Linked DNA regions of Homo sapiens: region 1 is linked to region 2. Evidence: promoter capture Hi-C in human tissues and cell types (Jung and others, 2019). All regions are on one chromosome and are shown on one strand. Each heading gives the region's core, a stretch centred on a gene start or on the middle of the fragment in contact. The rest is flanking DNA. Distances are from core to core; before and after follow the strand shown. Region 1 has its middle 110 kb from the start of SASH1. Region 2 holds the start of SAMD5 (sterile alpha motif domain containing 5).

Evidence for each region. The method cuts DNA at HindIII sites, captures the fragments that hold promoters and counts their contacts. A contact is called where the count stands out against the background at its distance.
Region 1: a contact is called between a fragment that was not itself captured here and the fragment with the promoter of SAMD5 in region 2, in 1 of the 25 tissues and cell types used here (aorta).

The regions. Positions count from the first base shown.
Region 1 is chr6:148,233,059-148,237,308 of GRCh38, forward strand. It overlaps a transcript of SASH1 not described here. Among named protein-coding and RNA genes, the nearest start is that of SASH1, 110 kb to the right of the region's middle. The HindIII fragment of the contact is 5,038 bases long and covers 1-4,124 here.
Region 2 is chr6:147,506,855-147,510,619 of GRCh38, forward strand. It overlaps SAMD5 (sterile alpha motif domain containing 5), which reads left to right and starts at 1,836. Exons shown (of 2, transcript NM_001030060.3): 1 at 1,836-2,533. The coding sequence starts at 2,075. RefSeq lists a silencer at 1-37. The HindIII fragment of the contact is 17,257 bases long and covers 1-3,423 here.

The DNA of each region.
Region 1 (4,250 bases), core at 356-2,855, 730 kb after region 2:
TACACAATTAGCCGGCGTGGTGGTACATGCCTGTAGTCCCAGATACTCGGGAGGCTGAGGCAGGAGAATTGCTTGAACCCAGGAGGCGGAGGTTGCAGTGAGCCGAGATCGCGCCATTGCACTCCAGCCTGGGCAACAAGAGAGAAACTCCATCTTAAAAAAAAAAAAAAAAAAATAGTGAAGCACAGCCAAGGGTAGAGCGAAGATTGAGACCCAGTCTGTCTGACACCGAAGTTCATGCTCCTTTCAGTACTGCAAAGCACCATGCTGTAGGGCTTTGCCCTCTCATCTGCCAGAGAAAGAGGGGGAAGCTTTCAAGCAGACCAGAACCTTCACCCACCCAGTGTCCACCTTTTTTCCTTTCTTCTTTCTCTCTTTTTATTCTTTCATACGTTCATATCGTTGAAAAATGTATATTGTGTATGTACTATGTGCCAATCATTGGTGATACAGGTAGGAACAAGAATCAACTCCTGCTTTCATGGTGCTTACAGAGAAGAGATAATTAAAGACATTAAGCAATGAATTACATGTTAATTAAAACTATCTAAATCAGCCAGGCATAGGGGCTCACGCCTGTAATCGCAGCACTTTGGGAGGCCAAAGAGGGAGGATTGCTTGAGGTCATGAGTTTGAGACCAGCTTAGGCAACACAGGGAGCTATGATGGCAGCTTCCTCTCTACAAAAAAAAAAAAAAAAAAAAATTAGCTGGACATGGTGGCACACACCTGCATTCTTAGCTACATGGGAGGCTGAGATGAGAGGATCTCTTGAGCCCAGGAGTTTGAGGCTGCAGTAAGCGATGATGGCACCACCGCACTCCAGACTGGGTGACAGAGTGAGACTCTGTTTCCAAAAAAAAAAAACTAAATGTTCCTCCCTTTATGTGATCCACAGAGAAAAAGAAAAAAATACTAGAAAAAGAGAGGAAGTGAGCATTTGCTGTGAAATGAGTACCACTTAGGTTTTTTTTGGGTGGGGATAGGGATACAATTTGAGACAGGGTCTCACTCTGTAGCCCAGGCTGGAGTGCAGTGGTGCCCTCATAGATCACTGCAGCTTTAAACTCCTGGGCTCAAGGAATCCTCTCACCTCAGCCTCCAGTGTAGCTGGGACCACAGGCACTGGCTTCACCATGCCCAGCCTACCACTTAGGCTAATTGCAGTATCCTAAGCTTGCCTTAGAATTACTATTTCTATTGAAAAGTACATTCTGAGTTGCAGTCCCTTTAAACCATCTCTTTAAAAAGCTAGCAAACTTAGCAAAGCTTTTTTTTTTTAGTTGATTCAAGTGTTAAGTTTGAATGTCATTGTGTGTGTGTGCATGTGTGTGTTTATACTGAATATCCGTATTTGGCTTCTATCACTGAGGTTTCTGCAAAGCATCTAGGGCTTGGCAGGATCCCTTCCTTTGCTCAGGGCATATCTGGGCTAGTCTGAGTTAACTTGGGGTGGGGAGGTGAGGATAAGAAGAAGGAGGAACTGGCCGGGCGTGGTGGCTCACACCTGTAATGCCAGCACTTTGGGAGGCCAAGGCAGGTAGATAACCTGAGGTCAGGAGTTCGAGACCAGTCTGGCCAACATGAGGAAACCCCATCTCTATTAAAAATACCAAAAATTAACCAGGCGTGGTGGCAGACACCTGTAATCCCAGCTACTCAGGAGGCTGAGACAGGAGAATCGCTTGAACCCGGGAGGCGGAGGTTGCAATGAGCCGAGACTGCGCCATTGCACTCCAGCCTGGGCAAGAAGAGCGAAACTCCGTTTCAGAAAAAAAAAAAAAAGAAGGAGGAGGAGGAACTGAAAGCTCAGGCCAAGAAGCTGGAGAACCTGGTGGGGTCTGAAAATGCTTATTCTCTAACATCAGAAATATTATCTAAAATGTACCCGTAATGGGTCTGTGGGCTGTCTTCGGTCCCAGGTGAAGTAGAATAGTATCCATTTTGGGATAATCTGATAACAAGCACCAACAATACATGGATTCTCCCTCCTCCTTGCTCAATACCGCCATTCTATGATTTTGGCTCAGAAGTTTAATAAAAACAATGGTCTACACCCCAGGAGCACTTGCGTCATAACGTGTCAATGGTAATCACATAACCAAACCCAATTCTGCAAAGAACGTAAGTGTTAAAAGACAATTGGTGTATGTGTATGGTGGAGGTGGATGGGGGTTGTAGGTAGATTAACAGCCCCTGATTGCTGACCTTATCTTATCATGTCATCTTAATCATTTGGCGTTAATCTCCTCAAATGTATTTAACTCACTGAAAGAAAAGACAAAATCAGAAAAATAAAATATCTCTAATCAAAAAGATATTTTCTGTTACTATCACTCCTTATTGTCCTTTTTAACCTACTCAATCATGGAGGCATAGCTAACACTATTATTTTTTCAGCATGATTATTTTCCACAGTATATGTTAAATTGATTAGAAACTGTATAATTTTTAAAATATGTATTTGTGCGTGGTTTTACATGTCTAAATTATACATGAACTCAGCAGTTTCCAGGATATAATAACATGTCCAGGAGCCCTATGGTTGGCTCTTACACATATATTTTGATGAGTCAAACCTACAGCTCCTTGTATTTCAGCCCACTTACTCACAGGGACCAGTACAAACATGTTTGTAGCAATGCTATTCAGTAAATAATTGTAGATGCAAAGAGTTGGAGAAGTCTTGCGAGTTAAGACCTTGACTCTCACAAGAACTCCTACTCTTCCACAATGGCCTTAAATTTTCCCCTTGGCTAGTTACACGTTATTTCTAGAACCTCTATTTTAAGTTTACTGGTGGACAAAGTCAATCAAACCTTATCGTGTCTCTCACTATTAAGGAAAATGTAAAACATACATGCAGAGACACTGTAGGCTAGTTTTCTTCTTATATTTTAAAATTCCTTCTTTGTGTTCAAGGACTCTGAAGGACCCTGTTCATTCATTATGAATATTAGGATTCAGAAAATAATGGTCTAATACAAGGACTCTTGGAGACTTCATAGCACCTTGGGGTTTGCATTTGCATGGCAAGGAGGGGTGTGGGTAGGAAATGGTGGCATGCAGGAAACTATCCCAAGCTATTCCAGAGGTCAGGGAACAGGAAGGAACACAGACTAAATTGGGCTGCTTAAATCACACAGTTTATTAAATTAAATTTTTTTTTTTTTTGAGATGGACTCTTGCTCTGCCACCCAGGCTGGAGTGCAATGGCACGATCTCGGCTCACTGCAACCTCTGCCTCTGAGTTCCAGTGATTCTCCCGCCTCAGCCTCCTGAGTAGCTGGGATTACAGGCACCCACATCATGCCTGGCTAATTTTTGTATTTTTGTAGAGACAGGGTTTCACCATGTTGGCCAGGCTGGTCTTGAATCCCTGACCTCAGGTGATCCACCTGTCTCAGCCTCCCAGAGTGCTTGGATTACAGGCATGAGCCACCACACCCGGCCTCACACAGTTTATTAAATTAATTTAAAACACACAGGGAAAAGCAAGGGGAAGGAGATAGAGTCAGTTCGTAAGGATGGGTTGCAGGCAGGTGACAGCAACCGCTTCTTGACTTCTGGACTATGCAAGCTCCAAACGTCCTGTCTTTCTCTACACTAACAGTGTGGTCAGGAGACCAGAGTTGAGGTTTGAGCAAGGGGGCCCACAGACAGAAGGCCTGCTGGGCCAATGACACACATTTGCTATGTCAGAGAGATGCAGGGATGCTATGGTTTGAATGTGCTCCCCAAAAAGCATGTGCTGGAAATGCAATCCCTGATGCCACAGTGTTAGGAGGTGGGGCCTCATGGGAGGTGTTTAGATCACGAGGGTTCCATCCTCATGAATGGATTAATGTGGATTATAAAAGGGCTGGGGGCTGTGAGTTCCATTCTCTCTCTCCAACTTTCTCTCTGGCCCTTCCACCATGCTATGACAGTAACAAGACCCTCACCGGATCTGGGCCCCTTGACCTTGGACTTCCCAACCTCTGGAACTGTGAGAAATACATTTCTATTCTTTATCAATTATCCCATCTGAGGTTATTCTGTTATAGCAGCAGAAAATGGACTAAGATAAGAAACAAGGACCCCCTGGCCAATTCACTTACTGAACAGTGAAAGGTTTTATCTGCATTTTTTTTTTTTAGCACAGTTCATGTGAAACTCAGAATGAGACCATATTGAGTTACCAATGAATGGCTCATCTAGAGATGACTGAGCTGTCAGCCTAGAGATAGAATGATCAAGACATATGACTT
Region 2 (3,765 bases), core at 586-3,085:
CGCCCTTCCAGCATCCCAGCGCCCAGGAGCTTCGCCACCTACCAGGGTCCGAGACCTTAACTCGGTTCCGGAAAGGGCGTCCCGGGTGACCCAAGTTTGGGGCCACAAGCAGCTCCACCGGCTCTCCGCGTTGGTCTCTCCCCTCCCCCTAAGCAGACAGTCCTTTCTGCCAGCTGTCCTTAATTTGAGATTCGTGAGTCCCGGGGTTTGGGAAACCAGAACCCCCCTGCGACTGTAGGGAACGTTTTGGGTGCGCCTATGTCGGGTATTTTCCTGGGCAAAAGGACAGAAGCTGTCATCTGATTCTTTAAGGGGTTCGTGTCCCAAGAGGGGGTTAAGCTCTCTTGGTTTAGGATAAGAGGGCCCACCTAACCACCCACCCAAATGCCAAACACACAGCAGGTCGAGAAACGACTCTGAAATCACTCCTTGTCCACTTCCCAAGGTCGGGCGAGAGACTGGCACGCCCCACGGGCAATCTTCAGAAAAAAAGGTCAGATCTGGTCCTTAAACAGCTCAGGTGCGAAGCTGAATCGCCCTTCTGCGGAAAGAGAGGAGACAGTACCTGCCCCCGCCGTCCCTCACTTCCCTTAGTCCCAAGAAGAGGTCAGACACCGGGAAATGGGGCCCAGGCGCTTGGTCTGTTCCACCTGCCACTCGAGTCCCCAGTCCCAAGAGGCTGCTCAGACATTGGCATGATGGGGAAACTCGATTGATTTTGTTACCTCCTAGAGGGAAAATGCCGTGGGCGGAGATGTCTGAGCGTCCCTTCCAACACGAGCTGGGTGGTGCTCTATTGATTTTCACGCGATCCCCGGGCGGGAGCGAGAGGATAGGCTCGGATTCCCGGGCTCCAGGACCGAACGCCTGGCAGTGTCCCCGGGGGCAAAGCCACCCCGGGAGCCCGTGCAGTATACTAGGTGGGGGGCCCGGAGAGAAAGCATAGCGCCGACGAGGGGGAGGGGCCGGGCAGAAAGGAGGGTGGGGTACCGGGTGGGACACACTGACCTAGGAGAAAGTACAACCCACCCCAAACTTTCGCAGACCCGGGAGCTTAGGAAGGGAGAGCCAGGAAGACAGCAGCCTCTCCTGCCGCCCAACGTGCCCAGCTGCAGCGAGGAGGGGCGGCGCGCAAGCCGGCTGGACCCGGGCGGTCCCCACGTTGCGCCCACCCTCCGGGCCAAAACGCCGCCGCTCGGGTCACTGAGTGGCCGCCCACGGAAGAAGTCAGATCGCCGGGCTCTGGGCTGCGTACGGGATCCGAGGAAGGGGGATTCAAACGCGGATCCGGAAGGAAGGGACACTGAACCCCGCAGCGTCCCCAGCGCCGTGGGGCGGCGGGACGTGTCCTTGGGCTGCCAGCGGGCGCGGAAGCTGGAGTCCGGCAGGGTCGGGAAGAAGTGAGCACAGACTTCCACGGGTAGAAGAGTCAGATTAAACAGAAATGTGAAAAGCAACCCAGGGCAGCCAACGGAGCCCAGCAGCGTAGAAGCCACCGGCTTCCCGCCGGGAGGACTACAGTGACTGACACTCGCGAAGACTAGGCGCTCCCAGCGGCCGCGGGTCTGCGTGGAGAAGTCGCCTCGCGGCGCGGAGCGCGCCAGCGGCGGCGGCGGCTGCCAGAGCGCGAGATGCGGCGCGCAGCCGCCGGACCGTCCCGGCTGGGAAAACTCGCGGGCGGCACTGCGCAGCGCTGACCCGGCGCAGGTCCGAGGGGTGTGCCCCGGCCCCTCCCGTCTCCGCCCCCTCCCGCGCCAGTCGCGCGCCCCTCCCCGCGGCGGCAGCGTCGGCGGCGCATCCAGGGGCGGCGCGGAGCCTTGCTCAGCCCAGCAGCCAGTGCCTGCGAGCTCCGCTGCTGCTTGGGGAATTCACTTTGCTGCTTGTTCGCTTCTCCCTTCCTCAGGCTTCTTCTGATGGTTTTCCGTCTCCTGCCCGAGCCTTTCCTTTAAAAGGAAAACTTTACTGCGATACCCTTTTCCCCTTGGAGGAGAGGATTAAAAGTTCCAAGAACTGGTGCCGCCCGTGCCATTTGGGCGCTGGGAAGGTGCTCGGCGGCGGGGTTCCCGGTCCCACCATGTGCACCAACATAGTTTACGAGTGGCTCAAAGCGCTGCAGCTTCCGCAGTACGCGGAGTCCTTCGTGGATAACGGCTACGATGACCTGGAGGTGTGCAAGCAGATCGGGGACCCGGACCTGGATGCCATCGGGGTGCTGGCGCCCGCGCACCGCCGCCGTATCCTGGAGGCCGTGCGCCGGCTGCGGGAGCAGGACGCCAACGCCGCCGGCCTCTACTTCACGCTTGAGCCGCAGCCGGCGCCCCCCGGGCCGCCCGCCGACGCCGTCCCCACCGGCCGCCGGGGGGAGCCGTGCGGCGGCCCGGCCCAGGGCACCCGCGGGGACTCTCGCGGCCACACGACCGCCCCCCGCAGCAGGGAGCTGGTGAGCTACCCCAAACTGAAGCTGAAGATCATGATCAGGGATAAGCTCGTCCGTGACGGCATCCACCTGAGCAAGCCCCCGTACTCCCGCAAGGTAAGGAGGTGCCGTCCGGGCGGCCCGGGGCGCGCGGCGGGAGGGGACACAGCCCAGCTGCCTGTGCCAAGGCTTTGCAACCCATTCCAGGTGACGACGGAGAGGCCAGGAGGCTTTGGGTATCTGGGACCCTTTTCTATGTTCTTTCTGTATTAGCCCATTATTTCGTCCTTCCTGGTGTCTCCAGTGGTTGGTAAGACAAGCCCCCGCATCCAGATGTTATCTCTAAACTAACGACCAAAACTCCGCATCCTCTCTGGTGCTCGCCTGTCAGGAATCGGACTCGCGCTGCTTCACCTGGTAGCCAGGGGGAATTCCTAACGCCCTCTATAGTAGTTTTGGGTTTGAAGAGTACCAGAAAAAATGGTTAATACCTACATTGCTTTCTACCTTCCTTTTTCTCTTTCTTTTCCTTTTTTGAGTCTTGAGAAACTCCTAAGGGAAATCGGTGAACTCTTTAAAGAGTGGAAAGTCAGGCCCTGCCTTTCTCAATTCCATAAAAAATCCCAGCGCTGCTGCAAATTTGAGAAGCTTACCATTCACATGAGCATTTTAAGAGGAAAAGTGAAGGAAGCACGTGTCAGTCCACTTGAGATGATTTCCTAAACTTGTGTATACTGGAGGCAATAAGGTGCTAAGGACATCAGAGATAATCGGGCCACAGGATGTGCTTCAGAGGTCTGGGCTGTCACGAGTTTGGTTTATTATTAAGCCAGATAAGATGAAGTAGGTACAACTGTGACTTCCAGGAAGTGTGAGTGGACCTGCATTTGGGAGAGGAGGACCGAGCACAAGTGAACTAAAGGGGAATCCTCTGCACCGGGGGCCTCAGGGAAGGAACCTGGAAGTTCCGAAATGTGGAGTGGGAGCTGGGTAATTAACAGAAAATGGTACTTCACACCAGAGCTCTGCTTCTAGCTGCGAGTCTGTTCCGTTTAGGTTTCTAGTTCAGGCGGCTGTCGGAGTAGAGGGTCCTGACTTGATAGAGAAGTAGACAGCACAGGTAACGCTCAGGATTGCAGAAGGTGCACAGGAATATGAGCACCTCAGCTTAAAAATCAAGACTTAGAAGAGCCCAGGGAGAAAATGATGGCAAACATACTCAGCTGGTGGGCCACAGAAACCCAACTCCCTAATAGGAAATGTGGATAATCTCAGTGTTGTGTGGGTATCTTGGGCCCTGGTAGTATTGCTGTAGAATCTTAAGTAAAGGCTGTAATGCCTGGAGTTAA